Linked DNA regions of Homo sapiens: regions 2, 3, 4, 5, 6 and 7 are each linked to region 1. The links are contacts of gene promoters, found by promoter capture Hi-C in blood cells and fetal thymus (Javierre and others, 2016). All regions are on one chromosome and are shown on one strand. The core of a region is centred on a gene start or on the middle of the fragment in contact, and the rest is flanking DNA. Distances in the headings are between cores, read along the strand shown. Region 1 holds the start of ZRANB2 (zinc finger RANBP2-type containing 2). Region 2 holds the start of HOOK1 (hook microtubule tethering protein 1). Region 3 overlaps ZNHIT6 (zinc finger HIT-type containing 6). Region 4 has its middle 2.2 kb from the start of LMO4. Region 5 overlaps ODF2L (outer dense fiber of sperm tails 2 like). Region 6 overlaps CLCA4-AS1 (CLCA4 antisense RNA 1). Region 7 has its middle 6.3 kb from the start of NFIA.

The links. Contacts are between HindIII fragments. The CHiCAGO score rates a contact against its expected background, and 5 or more counts as called.
Region 2: the fragment with the promoter of HOOK1 here is called in contact with the fragment with the promoter of ZRANB2 in region 1 in 2 of 17 cell types (total CD4 T cells and activated CD4 T cells); the score reaches 5.5 in total CD4 T cells.
Region 3: a fragment that was not itself captured here is called in contact with the fragment with the promoter of ZRANB2 in region 1 in 2 of 17 cell types (non-activated CD4 T cells and total CD4 T cells); the score reaches 14.1 in non-activated CD4 T cells.
Region 4: a fragment that was not itself captured here is called in contact with the fragment with the promoter of ZRANB2 in region 1 in 1 of 17 cell types (non-activated CD4 T cells); the score reaches 7.5 in non-activated CD4 T cells.
Region 5: a contact is called between a fragment that was not itself captured here and the fragment with the promoter of ZRANB2 in region 1, in 2 of 17 cell types (total CD4 T cells and non-activated CD4 T cells). The highest score is 7.5, in total CD4 T cells.
Region 6: a contact is called between a fragment that was not itself captured here and the fragment with the promoter of ZRANB2 in region 1, in 1 of 17 cell types (total CD4 T cells). The highest score is 6.9, in total CD4 T cells.
Region 7: a fragment that was not itself captured here is called in contact with the fragment with the promoter of ZRANB2 in region 1 in 2 of 17 cell types (total CD4 T cells and naive CD4 T cells); the score reaches 6.4 in total CD4 T cells.

Annotation. Positions count from the first base shown.
Region 1 is chr1:71,079,740-71,082,439 of GRCh38, reverse strand. ZRANB2 (zinc finger RANBP2-type containing 2) reads left to right here and starts at 1,405. Exons shown (of 10, transcript NM_203350.3): 1 at 1,405-1,500. The coding sequence starts at 1,445. It overlaps ZRANB2-DT (ZRANB2 divergent transcript), which reads right to left and starts at 1,116. Exons shown (of 4, transcript NR_046217.1): 1 at 1,027-1,116. RefSeq lists an enhancer at 1,166-1,455. The HindIII fragment of the contact is 3,322 bases long and covers 1-1,550 here.
Region 2 is chr1:59,813,577-59,816,276 of GRCh38, reverse strand. HOOK1 (hook microtubule tethering protein 1) reads right to left here and starts at 1,328. Exons shown (of 22, transcript NM_015888.6): 1 at 1,097-1,328. The coding sequence starts at 1,159. It overlaps LOC105378758 (a long non-coding RNA gene), which reads left to right and starts at 1,411. Exons shown (of 5, transcript XR_947426.3): 1 at 1,411-1,515. RefSeq lists an enhancer at 461-1,024 and a silencer at 1,261-1,860. The HindIII fragment of the contact is 6,303 bases long and covers 1-2,700 here.
Region 3 is chr1:85,702,974-85,705,701 of GRCh38, reverse strand. The region is part of intron 4 of ZNHIT6 (zinc finger HIT-type containing 6); the gene reads left to right. Among named protein-coding and RNA genes, the nearest start is that of ZNHIT6, 4.1 kb to the left of the region's middle. The HindIII fragment of the contact is 1,214 bases long and covers 816-2,029 here.
Region 4 is chr1:87,325,341-87,328,040 of GRCh38, reverse strand. No RefSeq gene overlaps it. Among named protein-coding and RNA genes, the nearest start is that of LMO4, 2.2 kb to the left of the region's middle. RefSeq lists a silencer at 1,929-1,978. The HindIII fragment of the contact is 2,574 bases long and covers 129-2,700 here.
Region 5 is chr1:86,392,104-86,394,803 of GRCh38, reverse strand. All of the region lies in intron 1 of ODF2L (outer dense fiber of sperm tails 2 like), which reads left to right. Among named protein-coding and RNA genes, the nearest start is that of ODF2L, 2.9 kb to the left of the region's middle. The HindIII fragment of the contact is 1,160 bases long and covers 698-1,857 here.
Region 6 is chr1:86,701,104-86,703,803 of GRCh38, reverse strand. It overlaps CLCA4-AS1 (CLCA4 antisense RNA 1), which reads left to right. Exons shown (of 5, transcript NR_135837.1): 1 at 1-197. Among named protein-coding and RNA genes, the nearest start is that of CLCA4-AS1, 2.0 kb to the left of the region's middle. RefSeq lists an enhancer at 1-24. The HindIII fragment of the contact is 2,416 bases long and covers 43-2,458 here.
Region 7 is chr1:61,074,953-61,077,652 of GRCh38, reverse strand. It overlaps a transcript of NFIA not described here. Among named protein-coding and RNA genes, the nearest start is that of NFIA, 6.3 kb to the left of the region's middle. The HindIII fragment of the contact is 3,593 bases long and covers 1-2,700 here.

The sequences.
Region 1 (2,700 bases), core at 156-2,655:
GAAAGTGGCATTTCTCAGAACATATCCCTATCATTAAGTGAGGCATGACTGTATATGCTGTATTCTAAAAAAAATTAATGCATTTATATACCAGAATCTATGCATAAGAATGCTCATACTGGTGTTGTTTGTAATACCAAGCCTGAGAAACAGAAGGAATAAACTGTCACAAAACCACAAAACGGAATAGTATCAGTATACATCAGTGCAAATAAAAGAATTACACCTATACACTTCTACATGCAACTACCTAGGATTAATTTAGAAGCATAATGAACAAAAAAAGAGTACAGAATCAACTATGCTTACACAGCTCATAAAATTAAACATACATGTATGTTAGGTTTTGAAGGGAAGGCAAGGATTAAAGAAAGAGAGGGTGGCTTAACAACAAATACAGGATTTATGTCCAGCATAAGACCTACAGAGGTGGGAGACCAGCTTAATGCCAGTGCCCGTTGCTTCTTACAGGCTGGGGTGATTTATAGGCCTGGGTGGGAGTGGTCTGGGGGGCCATGGCCTGCTTCCTGGGAACATGTTGATAAGGTGTTCCCAGGACGAGGCGGCTCTGGCCCTTGTTCCAGTGGAATGTGGTACTTTCTCCCAGCAGAGTATAAGAGGCAGCCTGTTTCTCACGCCCGAACCCCGTGGAATGTTTCACTTTGACTAAGGTCTGCAAAATGGCAGGGGGGCTTACAAAAATGGTGCAGTTTGGACTAACAACGTACATAAATTTTTAAAAAGCAAAAGAATAAATCCCAAATATGGGAAAGTGTTATCTGTGGAAGAAAGTAATGGGATGGTATCAGAAAAGACACTGGTAATTTAAACAGTGTTGACAATGTCTCAGTTTTAAAATTACCAGCTGGTTCCCATGTATAAGTTGCTTACTTATCTGTTACACCTATTTATGTATATATAAAAATAGGTTTCCAAACGACATCCCATGTGTATGAAATAACAGAATTTTTATGCCTTATTAAAATAATTTCTCTAAACACTTGAAGAGCCCGAGCCGCCTCTTACCCTAAACGAACCCCACGCCCCTGAATTGATCAGTCACTTCCGCCTCCACCTTTCCAGCTCCACCTAAGGAAGCGGAAGTACTTTACTCTTGGGTCCTCCCACCTGTAGGGGGCTCTCCGAGGCTTCTAGTGCCACGAAGGCCTCCTGCCTGGGTTGTCCTTATGGCGCCTGTGAGTTTAGTTCTAGAAAAGATATTTGTATTTTAACTTTTCCATCTAACAAACAGTAGCACAGGCATCTTAGTCTGGACAACAACGTACAAGCTGAATTCCTGGCTAGTTCCCTCATTATCAAACCCTGACACAGTAGTAGGCGCGAGTCAGGCAGTGTGGGGACAGCCCCGAGTTGCCGAAAGTCCCCGGCCCGTTTTCCTCCTGTGAAGACATAGCTGCGGGTGGCTGTGCTGGTGGCGTTCAAGATGTCGACCAAGAATTTCCGAGTCAGTGACGGGGACTGGATTTGCCCTGACAAAAAGTGAGTTCAAGAAGGGTCCTGAATTGGGACGGAGTTTGTTAGTGGAAGCTTTCCGAGGTCCGTCCGGCATTTTCCTTTTTTATGATTTTCTGTGCCTTAAGACGGGTTGAGGCGGCGAACCGCCAGTTCCCTGGCGGGAAGAAGGCTCCCAATCTCCTCACGAGAGAGGTCTTTCCGGGAGCCTTTGTTCTAGATATGTCTTCAGCGTTTCCTCGACATTACCTCCGCAAGGTAGCCTCTCTTTTTAGAGTGCGAGATGGCCTACCTTTTTGCCCCCACCCCCCTCCCCCGCCCCGGCCAGGTTTTAGCGATAGGAAACCTCTCCAGTCAGGCCAGCTTGGTGTTGGATCTCCCCCACGTGACTTTTCTCTGCAGAACTTTACTCTTGTTCACGGAAAATATTGCTTTCTCGCACTCGTCCTTTTGCCTCTTATAGTTCACCTTGTTTTGTATTTTTACTCAAACTTTTCCTCCATACTATTTTCCCCTTTTCCGGAAGCTCTACCCTCTTCGGTTTGGGAAATTCTGACATTTTCTTTGTGGATCATTTCTCCACAAGAATTGGGCTTTTCGCCTCCTTAGAGCCGAAAAGGAGGGAAGAGGCCTGTGTTTTTGCCTACTCAGCCCTTAAGATGCCTGCAGCAGAGAAGCACGTGTGTTAGTGGCTCTGCTTTTTGACATTGTTGCCAAAGCCAGTACTCGACTAGATAGTTAATCAGATTTTTTTTGAAGGGTGCACAAATAGGTGTATCTATTCGGAAATAACATGGAAAATAATTTAATGTACAACTCATGTTCACATAAAAGCCTTTTATTTGTTGTACCTAAGTTAGCCACAAATAGGTTTTGATTGTAAAAAGCAAAAACTTTGAAATAAACCTGGGTTTAGTTAAAATTCTATTACTTATTTAACTGCTAAAAAAGGAATAGAATTTTTTTTTTAATGAAAACATGAAATAACATGGATAGGGTGTGTAAACAGTGACGTGTAGCAAATTCTAATTGGTGGCTATTGATAGTAATTTGATATTAAGATGACCTGAAGGAGTAGTTCAAGCCTAACAAATGATACTGAATAGAACCAAAGTTATATGTTATGGATAGTATTGCTCTGAGTGGTAAGACATTATTGAAAACGTTCAAAAGATTTAGAACAACAACTTCTGACTTTGTTGTTACCTGTAAAATAATGTGCTTTTG
Region 2 (2,700 bases), core at 79-2,578, about 11 Mb after region 1:
AAAGTGTAAATGCTTTAAATTATGGCTATTTCCAATAGGCTTCACACATTTCCATAAACCTAGATTTCTCATTCTTTGGAATTAGATGCATTAGATCACTAGGGAATCTCAACCGATTACAGCCTCCTGATCCCGTCTGTTTACATTCCATCTGCACACACTCCCCTAGACGCAACTAAACAACTGGTTTGGGATGAGCATCATCAACAGCACCTTGTGGCTCATCAAACACCATCTTTACTCAATATGGGTTAAGAACCACACCTGAATGCCAGCACTGATATCTAAGTAACTCTAAGAGGTGGGATGTCATTTTGCTGACTGGAATATTGAACAATCTGGGGACAGATATGCCTGTCCAGACCCAACACAAATTAACAAAAATCCTAAACACAGATAAATCCTAAAGAAAAATGTCAACTCATTTTCTTTAAAGAAAATGCTGTCCATTTAGAGGAGGAGAGGGCCAGCGAGAAAAAGGGAAAACGACCCCCGACTCCCAACACATCTTTTTCTCCATACGGGAAATACAAACATCTCTTTGAAGCGGCTTCTACAAAATCGGATGTTCTAGAGTCCTGAAGGAGCATTGGTCCGGGAACTAAAACAGCCAGCCACCTCCTGGCCACCTGTGTCCAGGTAGAGCAAGGTAGTTTGAGGATGCAGGGTTAGGTTTCGGAAAGGGTCTTCACGCCCAAGCGGACCAAGGCAAGAGAGTCGGCGATCCAGAAAGTGGAGGGCTCGGGCGCTGTTCAGGGGGAGAAAATGGGGCAGCGGGGAGAAAAGAGGATGGGTGCTTGGTTCATATCCCAGCTGTTAGGGCACCAGGCAGGTCGAATCCTCTGGTTGAGACCAGAGCCTCCACTGTTACGCTCCCAGAGCTTCCTTTACCCCCACCCCCGGACACCAACCCGCGCCCACACACCTGCCCGTCGACCCGCAGGTGGCATTCTCTCGGTCAAGGGCACGAGGTGAGAAGGGCAGGGTGCGCCGGGACCCTGTGCAGGTAGCCCCAGCTCACCTGGGAGAACCGGGCGCCCCAGGCTCCTCGCCTCGGCCCCCTGGCCCCCTCGCCCTCTCGCCTCCTCGCACTCACCCAGATCATGAGGCTGTCGCACAGGGGCAGCTTAGGCTGCGGCGGCGGCTGCGTCTCCTCCATGGCCGGCGCCGCCGTCGACGACGCCGCGGACACCTTCACACTCCCTCCTACCGGCTCTCCTCCAGGAGCCGGCGTCCACGACCTGCTAGCCCCCAGGAAAGCTCGGTACCAGGCCCGACCCGCGCAGCTCACGCGCGAACCCTCGCGCTGTCGACGCGTCCGGCGTCACCCCCTCCTCACCCGCCCCCGCCTCGCTCCAGCGTTCGCCCCCTCCCCTTCCTGGGCCCCGGCCGCGCTGCCAGGCACCTGAGCCCCGCCTTCTCCCACCCCTCCCCTCCTCCCACCCGTCCTGCCCACTCCCGCACACCTCGCCCCGCCGCCCTGAGTGACCTGGCCGCGCACCAGTCACAGAGACGGTAGGTACCCGGGGGGGCGGGCGGGGCGGGGCGGGGGCGGGAAGAACCGGGATAGGTTGCGCAGGGGGGATTGCTGATTGGACGTGCCCTCGTGGGCTCTGGCCAATCAACGTGAGACAAGCCTGAGCCTTGGGTAGAGAGTGAGAGTGGGTGGGAAGAGGTTTATGACCTGGCAGGTGCAGTGAGGGCGGGGGTGGGAGGTTGCGCGCGGGAAGCGAGCGCGCGTGCGCGGCGGGGATTGGTAAGGCTGAAGCTCAGCCCCAGTGGCCGAAGAGGCAGAGGGGCAGCAGGGCACCGGCTGGGCTCAGGCGTCTTCCCTCCTTCTTCGCGGTAGCACGCCGCCTCGCTACACCTGTGGAGGGCCCACACTCTGCTTCCACATTGTCTTCAGAAATAGATCCTACCGGCTGGGCGAGGTGGCTCACGCCTGTAATCCTAGCACTTTGGGAGGCTGAGGCGGGTGGATCACCTGAGGTCAGGAGTTCGAGACCCGCCAGGCCAAGATGGCGAAACCCATTCTCTACTAAAAATACAAAGATTAGCCGGGGGTGGTGGCACATGACTGTAATCCCAGCTACTCAGGAGGCTGAGGCAGAAGAATCGCTTGAACCCGGGAGGCACAGGTTGCAGTGAGCCGAGATCATGCCACTGCACCCCAGCCTGGACAAAAAACCGAGACTCTGTCTCTAAAAAATATATAAAACAAAATAAAGAAAGAAAGAAATAGATCATACCCATGAATTAAAACTCTTCGAGGAAGGAAGAGCTGATTTCCTCCTAGGCACTCATTGGAAAGGGATGTTTTCATTTGCACACGTGGCAAATATGCCACATTAATAAGGAAAATAGAATCCGTCAGTGCTCCTTAAATAAGCTCTCACGGGACCATAGATCATGAGCAATTTTATTTTACATGGGGCAAAAGGGAAGACCGTTTTCAAGTAGCAAAATAAACGAAATGTTTTGAAAAACATGGAAGATATTAATGTATCCATTTTCCTTTGTCAGTTGAAAATTTGCTTTTTCCGAGAATGTTGTGGGGTGGAGGGGGGTCGGGGGAGGTGACCTGAAATTGGAAGCTCTCCAAGGTATTGATAGATGGCTTAGGTGATTGAAAAGGGCTAGACTATTCTTAGTCTTGCTGTCACTTCACTCATTCATAAACTCATCAATTCATGCTCTGAG
Region 3 (2,728 bases), core at 173-2,672, about 15 Mb before region 1:
CTGAGAAAGAGGCTGTCATGTGAACATTTGGAGGCAGATTATCCCAGGTAGGGACAAAAGTAAAAGGAAAGACCTGAGTCAGAAACAAGGATGTCTGGTTTGAGGAATTAAAAGATTTGCAAGGTAACTGAAGCATAGTGAGTGAGGAGGAGAGTATTGAAAATGAAGTTAGAGAAACTGGTGAGGAGTTGGGTGCAGTGGCTCATGCCTGTAATCCAAACACTTTGGGAGGCTGAGGCCAGAGCATTCCTTGAGCTCAGGAGTTCAAGACCAGCCTGGGCAACATGGTGAAAACCCGTCTCTATAAAACAATACAAAAATTAGCCAGGCGTGGTGGCGTGCCCCTGTACTCCCAGCAACTTGAGAAGCTGAGGTGGGAGGATCACCAGAGCCCAGGAAGGTCAAGGCTGCAGTGAGCCATGATTGCGCCACTACACTCCAGCCTGGGCAACAGAGTGAGACTCTGTCTCAAAAGAAAAAAGAAAAGAAACTGGTGAGGGTTTCTAATTCTAAGTGCAAATGGAAACCATGGAAGGGTTTTGAACATAAATTTGCCTTTTGAAAAACCACTCTTGCACTTTGTGAACTTTAGCGGGGCAAGAATGGAAGATTGGAAGCAGGGAGACCAATTATGCAGCTCTTCCCATGATCCTTGTGAGATAATAGTGGCTTGGGTGTACTGTTTGAATTATTGGGAAGGGATTAGATTGCGATTTTGAAGGAAGAGCTAACAAGACTTGCTATTCTAATACACTTAATTTTCATACTCTTGCATTCCTTTTTTAATTCCTTAAATACTATGCAAAATTAAAGCTTACATATTTGGAATATTTGGCAACTGGTGTTGTAGAAATTTGTTTATGGTGTGATTAAATCGTATCCTGGAATTGTGTTCATTTTAGTATTGGAGTTGCAGAATTTTAATACCTTTTAAACACCTTATTTTATTGGTATTATTGGTACAGACATAATTACATTACACATATCTGAAAGAAAATTATTCATATAGCAACTCTTATTTTTCCTCAAACTTAATTAGGCATAATTAAAATTCTACTTAAAGATAAATTACTTTACAATTTTTTTTTAAATTGTGAAATATAGCAAGTATATTTTCTAAACATCACAAAATGGAAATACACAGTATAATGAATAATTATAAAATGAATATTCATTTAACTACCACCCCAATCTAGAATTAGAACATTACTGGCTTCCCAGAAGTTCCATGCCACCCTTTTATGCCCTTCCCTGATCTTTTCTCATTTCTTTATATTTTTTTCTATCTTAGGACTGTACCACAATTTGTTTACGCATTTTTTTAATGGATTTTGGATTTTCTGTAAGAATAAAAAACAGTTTAGAAACAATGCCACTACTTTTGTCTATGAATTATAGTATGTGTGTGAACATGTGTTTCTAGGGTTTATACCTGGGAATAGAATTGCTTTGTTGTGTGGTATGCATATCTTCAATTTGCCTAGATGTTACCAAAACATTTTCCAAAGTGATTGTACTAGTTTACACTCTCACCAATAGTGTATGAATGTACCTATTGTCATATTCTCGCCAATACTTAGTTTGGTAAGACTTTAAAAATTTTTGTCAATCTGTTGGCTTTGTAATTTTATTGTGGTTTTAAATGTGCAGTTCTTTAATTCCTGATGAGATTGAACCACCTTTCAAATACTTTATTGGCCATTTGGATTTCCTCTTTTATGCAGTGCCTGTTCAAGTCTTTTGCTCATCTTTTCATTGGTCAGCTTTATTTTTCTTACTGGTTTGTGAGAATTCTTGGTATTTCTTGGATGCTAGTGCAAGTTGGTTGTATGTTATAAATACCTTCTTCTAGTCTTTGTCTTGTCTTTTCATTTTATAGTGTCTTGTGGTGAATGGATGTTCTTAGTTTTAATGTAGTCAAATTTATCATTTGTTTCCTTTATAGTTAGTAGGTTTATATGTTTATAAAGAAATCCATCTCTACCTTGAAGTTAGGAAGTTATTCTTTTATAGTTATTGCCTAAAAGCTTTATACTGTTGTGTTTTACACTTATGTCTTTAACTGGAATTGATTTTTGGTATCATATACAGAGGAGTTCCCATTTAATTTTTCATATAGATAATCCACTTTTCCCAGCACCATTTATTGGAAAGTTCATCCTTTCCCTATTGCTCTGTAGGACCACCTTTGTCATATATCAGCATCCCTATATGCTTGGGTCATTTTGTGGCCTTGTCTTTTCCATTCTGTTGGCCTACTGGTATATCCTGCACCAATACTATGCTCTCTGAATTATTGTGGTTTTTTACTGAAACTTGTTATCTGATTAAGTCCTCCCACTTTTTTTCTAGAGTATGGCTATTCAGTGCTGTTTTCAAGGCAAAATAATTGCAAATCTAAGCAAGGGATGGTCCATAGCCATAACTGCTAATGGATTTTTTTTCTTTTTTCCTCTGTTTCAGTGTAACCATACAAGTTTCCTAGCTTGCTCTAAAAGTAGAGATTGTTTCTGGTTCACCCTTATCCTGAAGGTATATTAGGAGGGTTGGTCACTGCTATTAGAATTATTATAATTATCACTACCATTACTGAAACTAAAGTCCTCTAAATTATAAAATTACATGTAATTTCTTAAAACAGTTTCCTACTTAGCCAATGATAGCTGACCCATCCTTTCCTTGGCTTATGGACTTGATTCTGACTGTTTACATTGCAAATTCTAGATCC
Region 4 (2,700 bases), core at 166-2,665, about 16 Mb before region 1:
GGGAAGATAAGTCCTGCATCTTAGGGCAGTGGACTTCTATCCCCTCACGCACAAGCACACAGAAGAGGATTTTTGTTGTTGTTTCTTTAATTCACGATATTGGAGATTTATGAACCGTAGTGGAAGCTTAGTTAACAAGGTAGAAACATAAAGGAAATAATAGTTGCTAGCTAAATACTGCCTACTTAGCCTCCCTCATACTCCCATTTTTCCGAGTTTGAAAGTGCCTAGCAGGCATTTCCTGGATCCTTGTCAATTGCTGGTGATGTAGGGAGCACAGTCCTTATTTTCAAAGTTGACGAAAACTTAAGGGAGAAAGCCTTTCCCGACTACCCTCCTCACTGTGGAGGATGAGAGGCGGAAATTCTCACAGCCCCCAAAAGCAATGGAAGTAATTGCAAGATTTGCAATCTCACAGCCTCTAGAGAGTAAGAAATGTCACTTCTAGTATAAATCAAGTTTTGAGGAATGCTTTTAGGGTGCTAGCCTGAGAGTCTTTTTCCAAGGCCGAAGCACAGCCTAGATGCTTGAATACCTAGGCATTCGACTTTATCTACTCTGCCAAATAGGTTAAATAAATCTCCAGACTGAGGCTAATATTAGGCCTGATTATTGTTAGTAAGTTCCAGAGAGATTTTTCTGGTGGAAATTATCATGAAAGTGCAAAGCCCTTCTGCTAAGTATCATTAAGTAAAACCAGCCTTGTGGGGCAAGTTTTCATATTGTGTTACACACAGTACTGCTAGATTGAGGAAAGGAACCTGAAGGAGAATCTGGCGAGACAATGCAGATGTTGAACATTTAGGGTTTTAGTGTCTATTTGGGGGATTTCTGTCTTTCAAACCATCAAAATTAATAAGGCTGCATAAGAAAGAATAATTATTGCCCATACAGTCAGGTAGAGGGCATTTTAAATATCAATTCAAATACTCATTTTTTAATTCTAGCACCTTAAAATTAAATGAATTAATTTTATTGATTTGTATTTAAAGTTGCACTGCTATGATGAATTCACCTTGTGCACATATAAAAAACTTTTTTTAAAAAAAAGTCATTAAAACTATAATAGTAATTAAAATGTCCTACACAGAAAACAGCTACAGATGGGCATGATTAAAGAGGACCAACTTAGAAAAGATGTAATGCTGCTTGAAGGTTAGTCAAGAAAACTCAATTAAACCAGATGAGGAGAGGAACACCATAAACAAATAATACATTTGAATCCCCTGGTTCATTTTCACTTTTTAAATAATTTATAATAAAAGGAGATGACACAAGATCTTAGTGGGCTACAATTAAGTTATGATTTGTCATGTGCAAGTAAATTTCCGTCTCTGGGCCTTAATTTTCTCATCCACAAATGAGAGAATTAAGCCAAATGGTCTTTATTTTTTCTTTTTAAAAATGATTTTCTTAGATAGAGCACATAATGCATAGATGTATAACGAATTGTGGTACTTTTCAGGATTTTTCCTGAAGAATATGCACTAAAACGAAATCTTAATTCCTGAAGGAAATGTTAGAAATTTAACCAGACACATGTTCAGCTATCATTGAGTGATTATCCAGAGGATCCCGGTGGTGTTTGTGGAAGGAAGGAGAGTGAGATGGATAAAACTTTGAATAACAGAGCTCTAGGCTACAGGGCCTACATTTTAGGAGGTGGTTTTAGTGCTTCAGCTCTAATTCTGTGCGGAGTGAGGTCTTTAAACATGTCCTGGTAGATTGGAGTGGATGGGAGTGTATTACCAGAGAGCTTTATTTGCTGATGTGTGTTTATAGAAATACAAAAGCGATAATGGCTAACAGTCTCTCTTCTGAGAGGTAGGGAGTAAATACATTCACTGTAATCAAAATTCAGGTGTACTTTTACCACAGCGCCACCTCTGGGTAATCTTTATTTCTGCATTCTTTGCGTTTAGCAGTCCTTTCTCATCCTGATTTGTGGTCTGAAAATGCCTGGTTGAGTGGGTAGCAACGTCAATCTTTTATTTCCACTGATGCGAAACACAAAAACCTTGTAAACACACACAAATTCAGTATGGGTAAAGAAATTCTGTATTCGGATATTCTTCAAACAAATATTAAAAACAGTGCATAAAGTAATATTCCTGGTATGAAGTAAAATTGCCTAACTCGAAATAATGTTATATTGTGCCCCACAGTTGACGAAACCTCTGCTGATATCACACATTCATCATTCATCCTACTCATCTGCAATGAGATATAAGATTAGGGGGCTTTGGAAAAGAAAGATAAATGTAAATCGTTTCTTTCTTGAATCCTAATTAAATGTGGGAACCATACTGCTCCTAGATCAAGCCGTCATTTTCTCCACTTGCCCCAAAATTATTTGTTCATAGCTTCCTTTCTCGTTTATGTCCTTCAATCATAATCATTCTTTTCTCCAAGTGACAGTTCGCTAAGAATCTCCCATGGACAGCCAGAGGTTCTACACAGACCTATGCAGCCTTTAATGTCTGGAGAAAGTCTAGGCTATTTGATGCTGATATGACCTCCAAGACAACATGCCCCAGCTCTTTCTCAGGAAAAAATATTCTGTCCTTTTAAAGTCAATGCAAAACCGTTTTTGAAGAAAGTCTTTTTAGGAAGGAAAATTTTTAAAAATCTGCTCAACTTTATTGCTGCCATCACAGAGATCCCTTGATATTCAGTTTCCTCCAACGTGAATACAAAAAG
Region 5 (2,700 bases), core at 28-2,527, about 15 Mb before region 1:
TGAAATTAGTTTGATATTCTGCTTATAGTAAGAATGTCATGATCATGTTTATGATTTGCTTTTTGCTTCTCTTTTTCATCTTCTTATTTCACAATGGATGTGTATTTATAGTGTAGTTTTTCTATCCCAAAAGTTCCTTGTGACAAACTTTAGAACAATGGAATTTAGTGATCTGGTCGCGGTCTGCTCTCTCTCTTTAGAATTGTAGTCTGTGCTTTTAGCTAGCTCATTCATCACTCATTTCCTTGTCCAGAACAGTTTTCATCTTTTGAATCTAAATTGAACTTATGAGTATTAAAACCTGACTGAATAAAGGCAAGTTTGTGTGTTACTTTTTGCTTTGTAGATTTTTATATTTATGTTTTAGTATCTCATGGCTTTTTTTTTTTTTTGAGATGGAGTCTCGCTCTGCCGCAGTGGAGTGCAGTGGCGCGATCTCGGCTCACTGCAACGTCCGCCTCCCGGGTTCAAGTGATTCTCCTGCCTCAGCCTCTCGAGTAGCTGGGACTACAGGTGCCCACCACCACGCCTAGCTAATTTTTGTATTTTTAGTAGAGATGCGGTTTCACCATCTCATGGCTTTTAATTCAAAACTGAGTTCCACCAATTCCTTACTTGTAATCTTGGACAAGCTATTTAACCCTTCTAAGATTTAATTTACTTATTTATAGCTTTTTAATAACAACCTTGTGAAGCTTTTGTGAGATGATGTTTATAAGGTCAGTCAGTGCTCTGCTCAGTAAATGGCAACAGCTGTCGTGTTGAAGGAAAGGAATATGCTTTATGTTTGTCTGGTACAGGATGGTGACTTTATTTGGGATTAGACAATATTCTGAACATCTTTGGCCAGGTCTTTTTCCGGGTAATTGGGCTCTATATGGACACTCAAAAGTGTCCGAGTTTAAACAGTAAATAATTTAGTCACCCTAACTTATATTTGAGAACCTAATCTATGCTCCCCACTGTGTTAGGTAATTTTTTAGGGCAGAGAGTGATGCGTATTATTTGTCCTCACAGTTAATAGCAAGTTTAAAAGAGAACTAAAATATGAGCATTTATGGAGCAGTTAAATTCTAAACTATATGATTCTGAAAATACTTTTGTTTAGAGTTCTTGATGGGCTGGAGAAATCAGGGCAACACTTTGAGAAGGAAATGGAATGTTGGCTTTGAAGTACATGCCGTGTTTACAGAACAGTCACTCTTGCTGTCAACTCTTCTTCCTATATTATCCAGTCTGCAGCCCATCTTTTAAATATACATCCTTCTTTTTTCATTGGAGAGAGGGATTACTAATTTGTTATCTAATCTAATCTCTCTGTATCAGAAAACGTTTTTTCCATTTTGGTAGCTTTTACGCATAAGATTTATTTTCCAGCTTTTTGCCTGTTTCCAAGATTCCTATCCTTTTTTTTTTTTTCATACAATTACCTCTCTAGTAAACGTTTGACTAGTGTCCAGAATAGTAGGGGGAAAAAAAGAGGATTCCTGTATCTACTTTGTGTTCCTTGCTGAATATGCCATGGTGACTTTTTTCAGTAGAAGCTGTGTTTGAAGCCAGTGGAAGTTAGTTTTCTAAGAATTTGTGTTTGGCAAAACAAAATGTGCAGGTTTCATATGCTATTCTCTTCAGAGATATTGTTTTAAAATACATATTCATCTGAAGTTAGTTAATTTACTTAGTCTGATCTAGGTGTTAAGGAAGGTCATGGACCATGATTTTCCTTTTTCTCTGACCATGGCTAGCATCATGGTCCCTGAGCAGTTATCCCCAAATGCTTGCTGTTGGCCACAGTGGAACATAGTTTAGTGAATGTAGCTGGATCAGCATAGCCTACAAGCACTCCTGGAAAAAGCTTTAAGTACATGTCCTCTTGGCAGTAGACTGGCAAAATTGTCTCTGTATAGGAAATTTAAATCTTTAAACATTTTAAAATATTTTAAAATTGCTCATCTTTAAGGATTTTTAAATGGTTTTTTAAAATTTTTTATTTCCATAGGTTTTTGGGGAACAGGTGGTATTTGGTTACATGAGTGAGTTCTTGAGTGGTGATTTGTGAGATTTTGGTGCACCCATCCCTGAGCAGTGTACACTGAATTCCAATTGGTAGTCTTTTATCACTCACCCCCTTCCCACCCTTTCACCCTGAATCTCCAAAGTCCACTGATTCATTCTTACCCCTTTGCATCCTCATAGCTTAGCTCCCACTTATAAGTAAGAACATATGATGTTTGGTTTTTTATTGCTGAGTTACTTCACTTAGAGTAATAGTCTCCAATTCCATCCATGTTGCTGTGAATGCCGTTAATTTATTCCTTTTTATGGCTGAGTAGTATTTTATCATGTATATATTATATATATATGTATATCACAGTTTTTTTACTCATTGTTTGATGGACATTGTGTTGCTATAAACATGCATGTGCAAGTATCTTTTCTATATAATGACTTCTTTTCCTCTGGGTAGGTGGCTAGTAGTGGGATTGCTGGATCAAATGGTAGCTCTACTATTAGTTCTTTAAGGAATCTCCACACTGTTTTCCATAGCGGTTGTACTAGTTTACATTCCCACCAACAGTGTAGAAGTGTTCTCTTTTCACTGCATCCATGCCAACATCTATTATTATTTTTTGATTATGGCTGTGCTTGCAGGAGTAAGGTGGTATCACATTGTGGTTTTGATTTGCATTTCTCTGATCA
Region 6 (2,700 bases), core at 1-2,500, about 16 Mb before region 1:
GTGGTTGTGCAGCAGGCAATGAAATGAGCTTACATTCAAGCTTCCGTGTTTTACTGAAACAACAGTCACAGATGCAGTAGATGTTAAAGGTTGAAAGACGAGTGCAGTAAAAGCATTATGAGGACAAGAAGAAAACGTAAATATTTGTGTTGTTTCATTCTTTGTTGTGGTGGCAGAAACAGCCCCCTCTTTCTAAGGTAACTCCAATATAATGATCTCTCCCAGCTTTGAAATACTCCATGTCTGTTTCATTTTCCAGAAATATGGAAAAATGAATATATAATAAAAAACCCTATTTCTCATTTATTGTCTATTTTAGATCTTTATGTGGAAAAGCACTTACTCTCTTCCCAGAGCACTGTTTTTAAAGTAGGTATATTTGCCATAACCTATGCTCGTCTCTACAAAAGGATCACACCACCGTGTCCACCATTAAAGGGGAAATTCTTTAATGGTGGACACAGTGGTGTCCCTGAATCCTCATCCTCAAGTGTTTCAATCTTCCCAGTCTTGGGAAAACAACAATGTTACTTCTTTCTTTTGCACCCTCTGTAGCTGTAATCCTGTTTCCCCATTCTCCATAAAAGACTTACCTTATTTTCATATATCCTTATTCTTAGCCTTTGACACTTTTTTTTTTGAGACAGAGTTTTGCTGTGTCACCCAGGCTGGAGTGCAATGGTGTGATCTCAGCTCACTGCAACCTCTGCCTCCTGGGTTCAAGGATTCTCCTGCCTCAGCCTTCCAAGTAGCTGGGATTACAAGCATGCATCACCACGCCCGGCTAATTTTTTATATCTTTAGTAGAGACAGAGTTTCACCATGTGGGCCAGGCTGGTCTCGAACTCCTGGCCTCAAGTGATCCGCCTGCCACAGCCTCCCAAAGTGCTGGGATGACAGGTGTGAGCCACCGCACCCAGCTGATTCGCTTTCTTTACAGAGAAAATATAAATCATCACTCTGTTTGGCAGAAGCCTCTTCAACCAAATTTCCTTATTTCCACCTCCTGTTCTCTCCACACTCTTTCCTGCATCATTGCCAAATGTTTCAAAGGAATAGGTGTCTCAGGTGTTCTGAGTAGAGCCACTGCTCCCTTAATCTTGGCTGCACATCAGCATCACCTGGAGAGTTTAAGCAACCACTGATGCCTGGATCCAGTCCCAGAGTGTGGACTGGGCATTGGGATGTTTTAGGAGTTCCTCTAGGTGTTCTTAATGTGTGACCAAGGTTGAGAACTAATTTGTCACCCTCTAGAACTTGCTCCATCAGTCTCTACCCTTTGCCTACAGACTGATTCTACTTCTCTTACCAGATATCAGTCCCTTAAGGGCAGTGTCCGTTTCCTATTTATTTTTATATATTTTATGGTTTACACAGGCAACATAGTGAATTCCCAAATGATTTAGTAAGTGAAAAAAGTAATCAAATCAAGATGTTTACAGTGCTAAGCTCTTTTGTGACACCATCACCCCCAGCCTAAATTTCCAACTATTTATCCATAGATTCAATATTTCCAGTGGCAAGTCTGTTATAGTTTGCTTTTCCTGAAAATTCTTCTTTTCTTGGGTTTCCTACATTGATAAATTGAATCATACACACCAAATCACCTAAGCCAGAAATCTGAGTCCCCTTTGATTATTTCCTCTTATTTCCCACCACCAATTGGTCTATCCTGGCAATTTCTTCTCTGAAACTGTTTCCTATTTTTCATTTTCATCCTCTTTTTAAAAACAAATTTTTTAACTTGAAACAATTTACAAACTAAGAAAACTGTTGCAAGAATAGTACAAAAACTTCTGTGTACCCTTTGCCTAGAAACCCCACTCAAACTTTGCCAATTATTCCAATGTCTTTACAGCAAAAACGTCCCAGCCAAGAAAGATCATGTGCTGCATCCAGTTAGCTTGTTGCTCAATTCTCCTTCAGTCTGGATCAATTATTCAGGCTTTTCTTGACACTATTCCTTCCCCAGAGTTAGCCACTATTTTTAAATTGGTATGATTAATATCTGTTATGTTTTTGTACTTTCACTGAATTTATATGTATCTATGAATGGTACTACTATGTTATATTTTTAAACTGCATAAATGATATCATATAGATAAATCCTTTTGCATTTAGGGGTCTAATACTTCTATTTGTGTATTTGATGACCTTTTTGTTTGTGGATTGATTCCTTTTGCTTTGTACATTGATTCCTTTTAGCTTTTTTTTTTATGGCTCATTTTTAGTGATACAGAAAAAAATGTTTCTTCTGTCAGAGACCCCTAAGGTTATCACTGGCTAGTGAGCAATTTTTACATGAATTTCTTTCTTGGCTTAGAAGTTCTAAGATCATTCAGATATTATAAATTTGAACCCAGATTTGTGGGAGTACAAACTATGATTCAAATTCTCAAGGGAGAGAGATCTTCCTTGTTTTTTTCTCTTTCAGAGCTTGTGCCTTGACAGAAAAGCTTCTTACTATGCCAGAAGAAAAGCTTCTATCTAGTCTACCCTTTCATTGAGGGTACAGAATTTCATGGGTTTTTAACTTATGTGTGTGTGTGAGGTCATGAAGTTGGGGGACAGGGTGTGCTCACAGTTAACTGATTTCTGTTTGCACCAAGGGCCCAAGGTCTTATCACAAGTTACCGTGTATTTTTAAAAATTATAAAGGCCAGGCGCGGTGGCTCATGCCTATAATCCCAGCACTTTGGG
Region 7 (2,700 bases), core at 117-2,616, about 10 Mb after region 1:
GAAAGTTTAAGATGTACCACGTACCATTGCAATGTAAAAAGAGTACGTGAGAAACTTTAAAATGCTCAGACGAATTGCTTCATTTGTTGTCCCCTTTTTTTTGCATTTAAAAAATATCTAAATAAACTTGGAACCGTTGAAAACCCGGAAGAGATTTTTTAAAAAGCTGTTGGCCAATTGCAGGCTTCTTGGAGAATTTTTTTTTTAACTCCAAATCAGAAGGCTTTTGCAATTGCAAGGCGCGCTCTCTCCCTCTCTCACTGTCTCGCTCTCGCTCGCTCGCTCGCTCGCTCTCACTCTCTCTTTTGAAAGCGATCCAACCCGGGCTGGCTGGTTCTCAGATTCGCTCTGGTTTTGCCTTGCGTGCTTTGGATTGTACGAGACTTTGCAGAAGTTGCAATCGATTCGGCAGTCCCTCTCTCCTCTCCCAACTCCCTTGTTTATTTCCGCAATCGCTGCAATTTGCATAGTAACCACGCACGAGGTACCGGCGGCAGCCTGCGGCGGAGGGGGCAGGGAGGGGGCAGGGAAAAGGCCTTGCCCCCTTCTCCCCTCCTCCAGTCTGTCTCCCCGCCAGTCGTCTCCTCCCCTACGGCGCGTGGCCAATAGGAGCCCCTACATTCGGCGCAAGCTCCGGTCTGGACACCGTTCTGAAGAAAAGCCCCTGTGTTACTAGGCCCGGCTCTCGGAATCGTTCTGTTGGCGCAGTACAAGTTCCCCTGCTTGCGCACCTCGCAGCCGGTACTGGGCAACGTGAGGATAAAGTACCTTTGCCTGCGGTTGTGCGGGTTTTGCACCTTTTAATCAAGTCTGCACACCTGCTCTCTCGGTTTCTTTTTCCAGGGCCTCTCGTGAGTTATTAGGCTAGTTCATGATGGTTAGTGAGAGATTTAACCTTTATTTGCACTAGTGTAGACCAAGAGTTAAAGATCCTCTTTGGTGCATTAAATCAAGAGAGTGCAAAATGTCACAGGGAACTTGCAGTGAAATAAAGCGTCTACCCTAGGTTAGGAAAGAAAAAGACAGTGGCTCTATTCTCTGCAGATGACTGAACATAAAATTGTTAGGTGGGCTCCCTCAAGAATAAAGCTGTTCTTTTAAGGCAGGAGATACGGTGAAATTCTAATTTAATTGCCAAGCATCTAATTTGTCAATATCCTTACAAAACCTGGGTTCCACAAAATTAAAGGAGACCCCTCCCCTTCCTACTCCCCTAAGAGAAGAGCTGTAAGAGTTTTGACATTTAAAAGGGGGGTTTTAAAAGATAATTATTGGAACATTAAGTCCTTCATCTCACTGACTCACCTTATTTCATTAACCCAGACTCTTTAAGACCATGTAGTCTGGATATTTCAATGTCAACAGTTTAAGTGTTTGTTTTAAACAACAAAATAGCCATTGGTGCAGAGCAAGGAAATAAGACTCTGAAGGGAGGGAGTTATCTCTTTAAATGGAAAGCACACAACCAGGCTACTGCGGTTTTCGTTGTTGTTTTTAAAAATGTGATTGCTGGCTGGGCACGGTCGCTCACGCCTGTAATCCCAACACTTTGGGAGGCCGAGGTGGGCGGATCACAAGGTCAGGAGATCGAGACCATCCTGCCCAACATGGTGAAACCCCGTCTCTACCAAAATTACAAAAATTAGCCGGGTGTGGTGGCGCGTGCCTGTAATCCCAGTTACTTGGGAGGCTGAGGCACGAGAATCGCTTGAACCCAGCAGGCGGAGGTTGCAGTGAGCCAAGATCACACCACTGCACTCCAGCCTGGTGACAGAGCGAGACTCTGTCTCAAAAAAAAAAAATTGTGTTTGCTTTGAGTCAGTTAAGGAGCATAGGACATTTTGCTGAATAACTTAGAGGAAAACGTGTGCTTACCTGGCTTGATTAAAAGTATCCAGTAAGAAGTCAAGAGTAATAGGAAGCAACCTGGCAGTTGTCTGATTTTCTTAACTGTCCTTGGTGAAGGTACCTAATTAATTAATAACAGGACCTTGCATAGTTAAATTGGAGGTTAGAGAAACCTCATATTTTATGTTGAATCACATTTTTTGCTTCGGTCTTGCTCTCTACAACTAGTCGACTGATGTAGCCGTACTGTGGCTGGCCTTGGCATTAGCTTTGCTGTTCTGGTCTGCCCCTCATAGATGCAGATATGCTCTTGGCTGTAGCAAGCCTGTGGCATTTAATCCTAGCCTCCTCCACTGAGCATCCATTTCCACTTGGTGTACTACTCTCACCTAGAAATACACTTGATGTGATGTAGCGGCTTCAGTTTAAATAAAAAATAATACTTTGGGAGGCCGAGGCAGGTGGATCACCAGGTCAGGATCTCGAGACCAGCCTGGCCAACATGGTGAAACCCCGTCTCTACTAAAAATACAATAATAATAATAATAACAATTTTTTTAAGTAACCAAAAAAAAAAGTTTTGGGCCTGGTTTAGCTGGTACTAGACTGTGTGACCTTGAGATGGTTACATAACACCTGTAAAACAAGACATCAACCTATTGTGAGAGTGGAAGGTTTTGTCAAAAGGTAAGAACCGTTGAGATGCAGAAGAGGTGTCAACCTGTACTGCATTGCTCTGTAGATACTATGGTCTGAATAATCTCTGATGCTAAGCAGGCCAGGCCTTGTAAGTAGGTGGTAACAGTGAATTTTGTGTGCATTGTCTGTAGTGCATTAACTCAGTTTGATATG